4 separate regions of the Homo sapiens genome follow, and regions 1, 2 and 4 are each linked to region 3. Evidence: promoter capture Hi-C in 16 types of primary human blood cells and fetal thymus (Javierre and others, 2016). All regions are on one chromosome and are shown on one strand. Each heading gives the region's core, a stretch centred on a gene start or on the middle of the fragment in contact. The rest is flanking DNA. Distances are from core to core; before and after follow the strand shown. Region 1 overlaps CUX1 (cut like homeobox 1). Region 2 has its middle 71 kb from the start of CUX1. Region 3 holds the start of CUX1 (cut like homeobox 1). Region 4 overlaps CUX1 (cut like homeobox 1).

Region 1 (3,135 bases), core at 113-2,612, 120 kb before region 3:
GAAGGATCGCTTGAACCTGGGAGGTTGAGGCTGCAGTGAGCTGTGATCACGTCACTGCATTCCAGCCTGAGTGACAGAGTGAGACTGTCTCAAAAAAAAAAAAAAATACACACACCAAAAAACATGGATATCAACCTTTTGTACTGACTGATATCATTAAGGCCTCATAAGCAGCTAGATCCAAATATTTACTGTCATCTGTAATTCAATTATTCACCCTTCTCCTGGCTTTTCTGTGAGGAGGGAAGGGCAAGAGTGTGGGTAGAACAGATGAGTTAACAGAATCTTCTCAACGTTAAAGACTGTCTACTTTGATTTATAAAAATCTTTGGTGTCTGCTGAACTCACATTTGCTAGAAAATGCTGGTGGTGAAGTGAGTAAGCAGAAATCTACTAATATTTATATCATTAGGCTGGGCGCGGTGGCTCTCGCCTGTAATCCCAGCACTTTGGGAGGCCAAGGCGGGTGGATCACTTGAGCTCAGGAGTTCGAGACCACCCTGGCCAACATGATGAAACCCCGTCTCTACTAAAAATACAAAAAAATTAGCTGGGCATGGTGGCACGTACCTGTAGTCCCAGCTACTCGGGAGGCTAAGGCAGGAGAATTGCTTGAACCTGGGAGGCAGGGGTTGCAATGGGCCAAGATCGTGCTACTGCACTGCAGCCTGGGAGACAGAGCGAGACTCTGTCTCAATTAAAAAAAAAAAAAAAGACTTGATTTTGATTTATCCCTTTTCCCTCATTCTGAAGGCCCCCCACAACCTCCTCACACCCCACTTCCAGGGACTCGGACATGTGAATAACCCTGGCCTATGCCAAAGCTTGGGCGATCTTTGCTCAGAAATAATCCTATGGCCACCAGGTTCTGCCTCTATCTCTGTCATGTGCTATGATGACCTGGAGATGGCTTTTAGGTCTAAACATTGATGCTAAGATTCATTTCCACCACCTGAGCCCCTCCAGGAGCTAATGTCTTTCACAGGGGGAGGAGCTGGGGGCTGGGGTGCTGACATCCCGGTACAGGGTCTTCAGGGGGCCACGCAGCACACACTCCCCAGGCATCTACTTTGTGACAGAGACAGAGACATGCAAACACAGTCCCGGCAGGGGACACATCCTCAATCAGCATCTGGAGGAAGGGACACAGAGGGAGGCCATGGGAGGGGGCCCAAACTGGCCTCAGAGTAAGCATTCCAGGAGCTGGTTCTAAATGCAAGTCCCCAGGCCCTTCCCCGGTGACTGTGTCTCACTAAGTCTAGGGTGGGGCCCAGGGACAGTATTTTTAACAAGCATACACACACACCCAGGAGGTTTTTATGATTAGCCATGTTAGGAAAACGCTGACACGGGGGAGCTCCTGCGTGCCTGGAAACGAAGCTGCTTGCTTAACCATTATGGTTCTGAGAGCTGGGAACCCTGATTGCATGATCTCCACCTAGCCGGTCCCACGTGGCCAGGGCAGAAAGCAAAACCCCAAAGCGAGGAGGCCGGTGGGGATGGCAGGGCTGGCGCCTGGGCAGTTTCCTCCGCTGGCCCCCTGCCACCCTCCGCACAAACACAGCCCGGCTGCCGCCTCCAATCCAGACCACCCACGGCAGCCGGGCATGATGGTCGCCGGGCTTTCCTCTCTTCTGTCCCCTGCACTTAGCCCCCGCTCACCCTTGAAGGATAACCTTTTCTCCTATGTATCCGGGAAAACTCCCAGGGGATCCTGCCCTAACTTCCTCCCCGGGGTTCCCATCTCCCTGAGTTCCCTCCTGTCTGCTCGCCAGCCCGAGTGCCGGATCCCATCTCCTCCCAAACTCTGTGACCTTCATCTCGCTCTGGAAATGACGTTCGTGCCTCTCTTGGAATGCTCTCTTTCTCCCCACCCCCGTCACACCTGAAAACAAGCTTGGGGCTCCCCCTTGTCAGGATGGGGAAGTCCATACCTTAACCTGGTCCATCTACAGATGTACCCGCCCTCCTCCCTCCTCCCTCCTCCCATCCTTCTCAGCCAAGTGCTTTCAAAACCCACTGTCTCTATGCCCCAGTTCCACAGTCAGAATCCTCCACCTGCATCTCCTTGACAGTGTTTTCCTGCCCTGTAGTTTAACATCTGTCTCCACTAGAATGTAAGCACCGCGAGGGCAGGGACCTTGGCCTTCTGCTCACTGCTGCAGCCTCAGGGCCTGCAACTGCCTGGCACACAGCTGGTCCACAACAGATCGTTGTTGAATAAGACATAACCACCGCTTCCTTGTTTTAAGAGCGTGTTTCTCGCAGAGTCCTCTAAAACAGTGTCTCAGCTGTTCCGGCTCCACCTCTGTCCCCAAACGTCCATCTGCTGCCAGGCTGTAGAGTGTAACTTCGGCTGGAAATGTGAGCCTGGCCATGTGACTCCCAAGTGTGCACCCTCTGACACTTGGCAAAGCCTCAGACAGAGTGAAGTCCAAGCTTCACTTGGCCTGAGCCCCAGCATCGTGTGCTGTCCCCAACACCACCCCAGCCTCCTCACGCCTCGTGACAGCCCCACACCATTGCCACACCAGGTCCGGGTTCCTACACATCCCCAGAGCCCTGTCTCTAGCTCCAAACATCTGCTGGGTGCTGCCCTCCCAAGAGTTTCATTTACTACTTTAGAACAAAATGGTGGATACCATGCCAACCTCCCCAGCTGGGCCAGGAGTGCCCGGAGAAGTGCAGGGCACCCACAGCAGATGTGCCAGCATGTCCGATGGCAGGACACAGAGCTGGGAAAGCGTGGACGGAGCCAGGCCTTGTCCATTCATGAATGGCAGTCTCTTTCACTCACGTCCGTGTGAAAAGACCACCAAACAGGCTTTGTGTGAGCAATAAAGCTGTTTATTTCACCTGGGTGCAGGTGGGCTGAGTCTGAAAAGAGAGTCAGCGAAGGGAGAAAGGGGTGGGGCCGTTTTATAGGATTTGGGTAGGTAAAGGAAAATTACAGTCAAAAGGGGTTTGTTCTCTGGCGGGCAGAGTGGGGGTCACAAGGTGCTCAGTAGGGGAGCTTTTGAGCCAGGATGAGCCAGGAGAAGGAATTTCACAAGATAATGTCATCAGTTAAGGCAGGAACAGGCCATTTTCACTTCTTTTGTGGTGGAATGTCATCAGTAAAGGCAGGAACCGGCC
Region 2 (2,928 bases), core at 28-2,527, 70 kb after region 3:
AGCCTCAGTTTCCCCATCTGTAAAGCAAAGGCAATGCATTCCTTCACTTTCTAGTTCTCAGGGGTTGCTGTGGGTGGTGAGACAGGGCCCACGAAGGTTTGCGGTGCGGGGTGGGACGCAGTAGGACCCTCATGGGGTGACTGGTGAGTACAATTGGCCATCCTTTCTCTCCAGCCTCCGTGGGGAGGTCGCCTTGACTCGCAGACTTGGCTTTGCTCCATCTGTGCACGGCTCTCTTCCCTGGAGCCTGAGTGGAATGTTTTCTCTTCCCTCCTCCTCCTCCTCCTCCTCCTCTTCCTGTGACCGTCTGTGGGATGCCTCCAGTGTCCTGGGGTCCCCCGGAGGCGGCCCGAACCCTCTCCCCGCCCAGCGCGGCCCCTCGGCCCACCAGGCTGTTTCCAATTTGAACACCATGCATCTTGTCTCTGAGATCACAGCCGCCTCTTTGATGGAACTAATGATGATCTAGGACTTTGGGGGCCCCAGACCTCCCCAAACTGAGATAAATCCTGCCTCTGTGCAGACAAGGGGCCTCCAGCCCGGCATCTGATCCCCCTCCTCCGGGCTGGACAGGGAGGGGAGGTGTCTGTGGGAGTCCCCTCCCGGCAGGCTGGGAGGGTGGTGGCTGAGTCCAGGGAGACAGGAAGAAAGGGATTTCTCTGAGGCTCCAAAGAGGGTCCCACAACCCGGTGGGGGAGGGTGGCAAGCTTGTGAAAGGGCCTCTTAGAAGGCGGTCTGATCCCATCACAACCCAGGACACAGCTGGAGCAGAAGGCAACTTACACAGGCCAGCCTGCTTCTCAGACTCAGTGCCACTAACTGTTCCTGGCACCTTGCTTGCACCGCTGGGGACGCAGGGAGGAATGACTCTAGTTTCTGCCGCCAGGAGCTCGTGATGAGGGAGAGGGATGGGTAAACCAATGACTCCAATATTGCGTATTGAGGACTGCAATGGTGAGGACCCCAGGGGCTGTGGGAGCACGGCAGATAGGACCTGACGCAGCCTGTAGAGCCTGGAAGGCTTCCTGGAGGAGGTAGCCCTGATCTGGGTCTTGCGCAGGTCCCACAATGAGCAGATGATGTGCCCTGTCCATACAGAATAAACAATAAAAAATGATACTAAACCCTATCAAGCTTGCCCAACCTGCCTTGTTTGGCTGTTGTTGTTCTGTTCTGTTTTAGGCTTTTAGCAGCCTGAAACCATGGTTTTTAGTTTCTGTCTCTAGTGACAAGCGGAAAAGAGGGATGAGGAAGGGGATTTACTGACCCAACCAGAAACAGAAACTAAGAGCCTGTGACTGTATTCTCTCCCTTGGACACCCCTGAAACCATGAAACTTACACATATGCTGAAATTAAAATACCTTCTTTCTAGATTTTCTGATCGGAAAATTTTGGATCCGTTCATCAAAGAAGCTTTATTTTATTATTATTATTATTAATTTTTGAGACTGAATCATGGTCTGTTGCACAGGCTGGAGTGCAGTGGTACGATCTCAGCTCACTGCAACCTCTGCTTCCCAGGTTCAAGTGATTCTCCTGCCTCAAGCTCCCGAGTGGCTGGGATTACAGGTGCCCGCCACCAGGCCTGGCTAATTTTTGTATTTTTAGTAGAGACAGGGTTTTACCACGTTGGCCATGCTGGTCTCGAATTCCTGACCTCAGGTGATCTGCCCTCCTCAGCCTCCCAAAGTGCTGGGATGACAGGCATGAGCCACCACACCCAGTCTATTATTATTAATATTTAGAGATGGGATCTCTGTCAACCAGGCTGGAGTGCAGCAGTGTGTGATCATAGCTCACTGCAGCCTCGAACTCCTGGCCTTAAGCGATCCTCCTGCTTCAGCCTCCCAAAGTGCTGGGATTTTAGGTGCATGCCACCATGCACTTAGCCCATTTTAAGTTTTTAAAGAAATGTGAGTTGGACTCTGGTGAGCAGCAGAAGGTGGAGGAAGAGGAAGTGAAAGGTGAAGGAGGCAGAGGAGGAGCATTGAGTGCTGGGAAGGAGGAGGCACTGGCTGGGGGCTTGCCCTGTCTAAGGAGGGGCGTCCTCCAGGAAAATCAGACTGTTCTGTCATTCATGATCTGTCCTCCAACCTCTAGGAGCATCGCCCCCACCCCTTCCATAGCCGGGGGCCTGGCTCAGAAGCACAAGGTGCTCAGAGATACCAGTGAACCCCAGGGTAACAGTCGGAGTGGGCTTCCTGGAAGGGTCTGGAAGGACACTGACTTATCACCTCATAGCGGCTCCTCACTCTTCACAAGATAAAACTAGACTTTAGAGGGCAACTGTGGTGTGGCTCACACCTGTAATCCCAGCACTTTGGGAGGCCGAGGGCCTCTTGAGGCCAGGAGTCCAGGACCAGCCTGGGCAAACATAGTGAGAACCCATCTCTAAAAAACAATTTAAAAATGAGCCAGGCATGGCAGTGCATGCCTGTAGTCCCAGCTGCTTGGGAGGCTGAGGTGGGAGGATCACTTGAGCCCAGGAGGTTGAGGTTATAGTGAGGCATGATTGTGCCACTGCACTCCAGTCTGGGTGACACAGCAAGACCCTGTCTCAAAAGCAAACAACCCAACCAAAAAACCAACAAAACCCCCAAAATCCCTCAAAGAACAAAAACCCATAATTGTCTCCCACTCCCCCCAAAAAAACAACAAGAAAACTAGACCTTGGAGTGTGGCTTCATGGGCCCCTCTTCCATCTGCCCTTAGATGGATCTTCAATAATGCCCTATCTATATCAGCTCTTGGTTGGCGTGATAGAGATAATACATTCGCTGCTCCAGAGTCACTCGTGGTTCAGGCAAGGTCAAAGAGTCACCAGGAGTCAGTCATCACCTAAGTGGTACCTCCTGCCTGGGAAATGCCTCTATCACTGCCCACCTCCAGGTACCCAGAACTCCGGCCACTACCAAGGATCACTTGA
Region 3 (3,143 bases), core at 335-2,834:
GAGATAGGATAAAAAACTTGTCCAACTAGTCTTAGCAATACCAAAGCACTGAAACTTCCATACCACAAGCCTTTGGGACTAAAAAGGAAACGGAATAAAACACAATCTTCAGAAATTCTCTTCCTGAGCACACACTCCTGTGCCAAGGCAGCAGCTTCAAGACCCAGGAAGCCGAGGGACAAGAACCCAGTGAGCCAGGGTTGCAGAACTGCGGAACGGCCCAACCTCACCTGGACCCGCTGACGTCTCCAACCTGGATTTCTCTCTGCAAAGACCGATCAGCCTCTTTACCCCCAGGTGGCAACCCAATCTCAGTATAAAGAGGTCTGGAAAAATGAGAAAAATCTGGAACTAATGAATTCTCTCCCAAACTCGTTCTATTGACTCACTGACTATCGGTGGGAATTAACCAGACACCAACTCCAAAGGCCTCCTCACCGCCCAGAGAAAGAACCAGATTGGCCTGAGACTTGAACTTTGACATTCCGTATTCGACTAAAGTTTGCAAACCCATAGGAAATCATCTAAGGCCAAATCGTTAGCAACCACCAAAAGCAAAGGAGTAAAGAGGAATGAAGTTCAAATAAGGGACTTTGTTTTGGGGTTTGGTTTTGATTTCTTCTTAATATCCACATAAAGTGCAAGTAAACTGACATGGAAACTTTCGATGGAACCCTGGAGCCCTGATCCCCTGAAGAAGTAGCTAATATGGGGGACAGGAAGGTTTAGAGTTCTTAAAATCTAGTAACTCTAGAAACCAAATCCATTTTCCAGGCAATTTTGCCAGGATGCTTTAAAAAAGACACTTCATTGATATTAAGCTAGGATGTCACATTTAGGAAGACAAGAGAGAAAAATAATAATAATGTTTGTCCTTAAAACTCCACAACGGGTTTTACAGTAAGCACAGGAATTAAATTATGGTAAAAGGGAGCTATTTTTACTAAAACAGGGTAGACCAATTTATCAAAAATGCCATTCGGCTGTGTTCATTACATCCAGGAATCTAATTTACACAATAGACACTTTGGAGTAATCTATTTTAGTCAATAAATACTTAAACTCCTTTAAGTTTTAATCTTATCGGAAATACATATTTCGCATAGTCTTCTTCCTAGTTAAGCGAGAAATTTCAGGAAATTTCATAACGACTATGACTCGGCTTTATCGTTCTTAGTAGGCAAGAGCAGAAAACAAGCATATACAATTAAAGTTGTCAGATTCCATTTAAATATGTTTTAATCCAACCCGCTTCGTTTGATACAAGCCTGCATCTCGAGCTTTGCTCCCAAAGGTATTGCGGTAGGTCACTGTCACCAGTCCTCCAGGTTAGGAAAGTTCAGCCAAGTTTATCTTCACGCACACCTTAGCAGTTGGGAGTAGCTGCAGTTCCCCAGGGGCCCTGAGGAACCCTCCTATCCCCTCCCAGAGCACCAGGCCGCCCTAGAGCATTCTAAGCCGCGGGACCCGGGCACCCCCCGACATCCCCGGTTCCCTCCGCGCCTGCAACCTCGGGACTTCTGGCCCACACGCCGCTCACCTTCAACCTGGCTCCGGCTACGCACAACATCCACCTGGCAGAGTCCCGGGGCTGTCCCGGCGCCGCGGGCGCCGAGCTGGCACGTGCGGGGCGGACCCTAAGGGTGCGCCGCTCCTCCGGGCGGGGGGTGGCAGGCAGGCACTCGCCCCTTGGGCACGGCGGCGACTCGGGCGCGGGCCGGGGAGCCCCGGCACGGTCCCCCCGCGGCGCCGGGGACTCCGCGCGCGGACCACCGCCCGGCATGCCACGGTCCCAACGGGCCCCCGGGGCTCTGCTTTCGAGAACCCGGCCCGAGAAGGCATCTCCGAGCGCACCCGCCGCGCGCTCCATGGCGGGCCCTGCAGAGAGGGCAGAAGCCCCGAGGGGACGCAAGGAAGGGACCCGGCGCCGCAGGTCACCGGGGGCCGCCGGAGCCCCCAGGCGCGCGGCGATCGCGGCTCGGACCGGCGGCGGGGAGGCAGCGTACACTGCCCGGGCACCCGGGGGAACAGCTTGGGGCCTGCCTAGGGGAAAGTTGCAGCCTCCTCCTCCCGCGCCCGCACCCGGCGGTCCGGGACACCGGGACCCAGCGACACTGCGCGCGGGGCACCCCCGCCGCCCCTCGCCAAGTTTCCCCAAAGAGCCCCCGCGGGGGTCCGCCACGGAGGAACAGGTCCGCGTCACCGACACAGGCACACAAAAGAGCGCGGCGGCCGCGAGGTGCGCGGGTGGCCCCGGGGCGCTCCCCGGGACGTAAACAAACCCGGGGGTCCGCGCCGGGAGCCACACGCGGGGTGCCGGAGCGGCGGCGCGGCCCGGGCCGGTGACAGCCGGGGGCGGCGGCCGGGGCCGGCCGGGGGTAGCGAGCGCGGGCGCCTGCCCGGCCACCCGCCCGCCTGGCCGGAGCCGGGCCGCGCCGCCGCCGCCGCCGCCGGTGGCCGCTCTGACCCTCCCCCGAGCCGGCGGCACCACAGCGCCACCAGCCCCAGCTCCGCCGCGCCGGCGGCAGTGGCGGCGGCTCCTCCTGGAGAGGCAGGCGCTTCACCCCCCGCAGCAACTCCCCACAAACTTTCCCCGGGAATACGGCGGGCCGGGGGCGCGGGGCGAGCGGGCGGGCGGGCGCCACCGCCGGGCCGCGGCCCCCTCCCGGCGCCCGCCGCCGCCCGCCCCCCGCCGCCCGCTCCCCGCTCCCCGCTCGCGCGCGCACCCCGCGGGCCGCCGGGGCCGCCCCCTCCCCGGTCCCGCGGCGGCAACGGCGGCGGCGGCGCTGGCGGCGGCGGCGGCGCGGGGCCCGGGGGGGCGCCCGGGGTGGGGGCAGACACCGGGGGCAGTGGTGGCGGCGGCGGCTCCCGGCGCCATCTTGGGCTGATCGATGAATTGAACAAAGAGGATCAATTTCCGATCAAGCGAGTGATCAATGGGGGCCGGGGAGCGGGAGGGACTCGGCCCCGACTCGGCCCCGCGGTGCCCGGCACCCCCCTCCTCCCCGCCGCCGCGGGCCCCCCGGCGGCTGGGCCAGCCCGGGGCCCCCGGCGGAGGCCGCGACCGCCCGCAGCCCCCACCCCCGGGCGCGAGGCCGAGCGCGGAGGAGCCTGACCTGCAGCTGCTGTAAATCAAAGCGCTT
Region 4 (3,391 bases), core at 615-3,114, 80 kb before region 3:
TGGAGTGCAGTGGCACAATCCAATCTTGACTCACTGCAACCTCTGCCTCCTGGGTTCAAGAGATTCTCCTGTCTCAGCCTCCCGAGTAGCTGGGATCACAAGAGTGCACCACCACACCTGGCTAATTTTTTTTGTATTTTTAGTAGAGACCGGGTTTTGCCATGTTGACCAGGCTGGTCTCGAACTCCTGACCTCAAGTGATCCACCTGCTTTGGCCTCCCAAAGTGCTGGGATTACAGGCGTGAGCCACTGCGCCCAGCCTCCTGTGATTTCTTGAGGACCAACTGGCAGGGAGGGGATTGTGATCTGGTTTGAAGGGCAAAAGGCCGCTCAGTAATGTGGGATCTATAAGGACCCACTCCACCCCATCACCATCTTATCACTACCACCCAGGGTCTGGACCCCAGAACACTGCCCATGCAGCAACAGGAAGCAACTTGGACCAGGCAGCCTTGGTGATGCTCTCCAGCCACTTCTCTGCCCACGAGGTTCCATCACAGATAAGAAGCCACAGGCAGCCATGCACAAATAGCCGCCAGTGGACGGGGCTCTGGGATGCTGCACCTATGTGCACCAACGCCTTCCACGCCACTCAGTATGTTATTCTTCCAAGCTAGTGTAACTATAAAGGAAATTAGCCGGGTGCGGTGGCTTATGCTTTGTAATCCCAGCACTGTGGGGGGCCGAAGCAGGCAGATCACCTGTGGTCAGGAGTTCGAGACTGGCCTGGCCAACATGGCAAAACCCTGTCTCTACTAAAAATATAAATATTAGCCAGGTGTGGTGGTGCGTGCCTGTAATCCCAGCTACTCAGGAGGCTGACGCAGGAGAATCACTTGAACCCGGGAGGCGGAGGTTGCAGTGAGCCAAGGTCGCGCCGCTGCACTCCAGCCCAGGCCACAGGGCAAGACTCTGTCTCAAAAAAAAAAAAAAAAAAAAAAAGACACAGAAATGGAAAGAAACAAGAATAGTCTCTGAAGGAATCCTGAAGCAGCTTCAGTGAATAAAGTACATACAGGAAGCCGCCCCAAGAAGAGAAAATAGGATAAACTAAGAGGGAATTACGAGCCTGGCACTGAATGGCATTGGAGACTTCCCCGTCCCGGCGGCTGCCAGTTCTTCTCCTCGTCCCCACTGCTTTAAACACGGGGAGCCCAGAGCCAGTGAGCTGCTGACCTGTCAGATCTGACTTCTGGAATAAAAATGAAAAGGCCGAGTGGCAGCCGTAACATGGAATTTCCTTGTTTTTATTAGTTTAAGGCTCTTAAAGAGTGACTTTTACATTGGGGAAAACTTCTCAAATATGTACTACTTGAGACTTAGATCCAGTTACCTCTCACATGTTTTCAATCATTCTGCTTGCCAATTTTACTAGATATCAAAAGACATTTGCGGTTTAAAGCAGGGGAATGGGTCCCCCCCAACCATTCCCCACTCCAAGTACATCTGCGCTCCCTGCGGTGACTCTTCCCCCTAGATCCCTGACCCCTCGGGGCTGCCAAAAAGGCCCACCGGGGTACCGGGGGTGCTACTGGATCCACGCAGGCAAGCTGGGTGGGGGTAGGAGGGTGGTTTATTTCAAGCACTGGTACTGCAGGGGAAGAATTTTTTGGTTTTGGTTTTTAGACAAAAACTATTGATAAAATCCAGCTTTTTACATGACTTGCCACTCACATCAAGTCCAAGGAACAGAGGTTCCTCTTGAAACACACACACCAATAAGCAAAACCCTAAGACTACCACACTGGAAAAAAAATGGTTATTCAGTCATCCATCCCAAGAGCTGAAACTATAAAGATTTGGGGATGATAATATCAGACTGGTCACGCTATAGTCTGGGGTTCATTTAACATTGAAGCTGGGTGTGAAAACAGTAAACTGTTGCCCATGACCTGCGCTGTGATACTTACATCAGCAGAAATAATTATGAAAGTCTAACCAATTGTGTTGTTAGATATCTTCTAACTAAGCACAGAACCTCTACTTTTTTCTTTTCTTTATTTTATTATTATTATTTTTTTTTTTTAAGAGACAACATCTCGCCCTTCACTCAGGCTGGAGTACAGTGGCACGATCATAGCTCACTGCGGGCTTGAACTCCTGGGCTCAAGCAATCCTTCCACCTCAGCCTTTCAAGTAGCTGACACGACAGGTGCATGCCACCATGCCCAGCTACTTTTTAAAAATTTCTGTAGAAATGAGGCCTCGATATGTTGCCCAGGCTTCACTTGCTGTATTAACCAAACACACCCAGGGGTGGCTGAGCCTTCGAGGATGTCAAGCCACAAGATGTCTAATAGCAAATGACGTAAAACTCTGCGCTGTCATCCAGGGACAGAGATGGGAAGAGAGAGTTTGAAACCTCATTAAAAACAAAATGAAACACACTTCCTGCTTCGCAGATGCGTCCTAAATAGTTTGCTTGATATAAATTCAGAGGAAGGCCTAATAAGAGGGAGTAAATGGGTGCTGGCTGAAAGGAGGCTGCCCTTCAAGACAGTTGTGTGTGCGTGACTTTTCTGCACATCAGATAGGCTCAGGGGGGCCACTGCTGAGCCAGGCTTGTATCTTACTCTTCATAGGGACTGACTGCTTGCCTTATACAAAAAGGATAATACTGACTGCTCGTAAGAACTTACTGGGAGTGCGTCTCTAAATTTCTGGTACAAACGTGCACTTTCCCTATGAATACTCAAAGGCAAACAAATCCTCTAAGATGAAAAACTTCATATTTAGTTTGTTAGGGACAGACAGGCTCCACATTTCAGCACAAACATTTATTTTTAATCAAGCTAATTTTTTATTTTTCCCATTTAAGACCTGTTAATTCCATGACTGAGAATTCATCAAGTTTCAGACTGGAATTAATTTTAGCAACTGCTTTATACCAAAAATATTAGTGACGGTAGCTGTGTAACTGGCTTTGCTTCACAGTCTGTCATGGGAAAGTCTGAGCATTTGTGTTCCTTCCAGAGTCTAGTTGGAGCTGACAAAGGCGAGTTCTAAAGTGAGTTCACCATTTTCCCCTGAGGAGCAGAGCTGTCAGAAGCAATACCAGCAATCTGTTCACTGGTCTACTTTACACAAAGCTGACTGTGGCGTTCCTGTGTATACCTTCATACACCCCTTCATTCACCCATTCACGTTTCTGCAAACGCACACCGATTCGACGCTTACTGTGCATGTCCCCACGGTGCCTGCTGTTGCTCTGTTCCCACACCTGCTTCCTGGCCTACCTGCTGCACCTGGGGCAAGGCTGCCCACGACCTGCAAGAGCTGGAGGTCGGAAGACTGCTGGCTGTGGTCTGCTCTTTTCATTTTAATTTTATGGGTGAGCCAGGCATGGTGGCTCACACCTGTAATCCCAGCACTTTGGGAGGCTGAGGTGGGC

What was found. The method cuts DNA at HindIII sites, captures the fragments that hold promoters and counts their contacts. A CHiCAGO score of 5 or more calls a contact.
Region 1: a contact is called between a fragment that was not itself captured here and the fragment with the promoter of CUX1 in region 3, in 3 of 17 cell types (monocytes, M1 macrophages and fetal thymus). The highest score is 8.7, in monocytes.
Region 2: a fragment that was not itself captured here is called in contact with the fragment with the promoter of CUX1 in region 3 in 14 of 17 cell types (total CD8 T cells, naive CD4 T cells, naive CD8 T cells and 11 more); the score reaches 15.6 in total CD8 T cells.
Region 4: a contact is called between a fragment that was not itself captured here and the fragment with the promoter of CUX1 in region 3, in 1 of 17 cell types (monocytes). The highest score is 7.3, in monocytes.

What each region holds. Positions count from the first base shown.
Region 1 is chr7:101,935,089-101,938,223 of GRCh38, reverse strand. All of the region lies in intron 2 of CUX1 (cut like homeobox 1), which reads right to left. Among named protein-coding and RNA genes, the nearest start is that of CUX1, 120 kb to the right of the region's middle. RefSeq lists enhancers at 1,100-1,671, 1,672-2,243, 2,159-2,298, 2,244-2,815, 2,816-3,135. The HindIII fragment of the contact is 1,072 bases long and covers 827-1,898 here.
Region 2 is chr7:101,745,555-101,748,482 of GRCh38, reverse strand. No RefSeq gene overlaps it. Among named protein-coding and RNA genes, the nearest start is that of CUX1, 71 kb to the left of the region's middle. The HindIII fragment of the contact is 281 bases long and covers 1,137-1,417 here.
Region 3 is chr7:101,816,067-101,819,209 of GRCh38, reverse strand. CUX1 (cut like homeobox 1) reads right to left here and starts at 1,584. Exons shown (of 24, transcript NM_181552.4): 1 at 1,541-1,584. The coding sequence starts at 1,570. RefSeq lists silencers at 1,635-1,684, 1,735-1,804, 1,835-1,914, 1,985-2,304, 2,415-2,574 and an enhancer at 2,400-3,143. The HindIII fragment of the contact is 10,531 bases long and covers 1-3,143 here.
Region 4 is chr7:101,896,137-101,899,527 of GRCh38, reverse strand. The region is part of intron 1 of CUX1 (cut like homeobox 1); the gene reads right to left. Among named protein-coding and RNA genes, the nearest start is that of CUX1, 80 kb to the right of the region's middle. RefSeq lists enhancers at 2,715-3,215, 3,216-3,391. The HindIII fragment of the contact is 4,202 bases long and covers 1-3,391 here.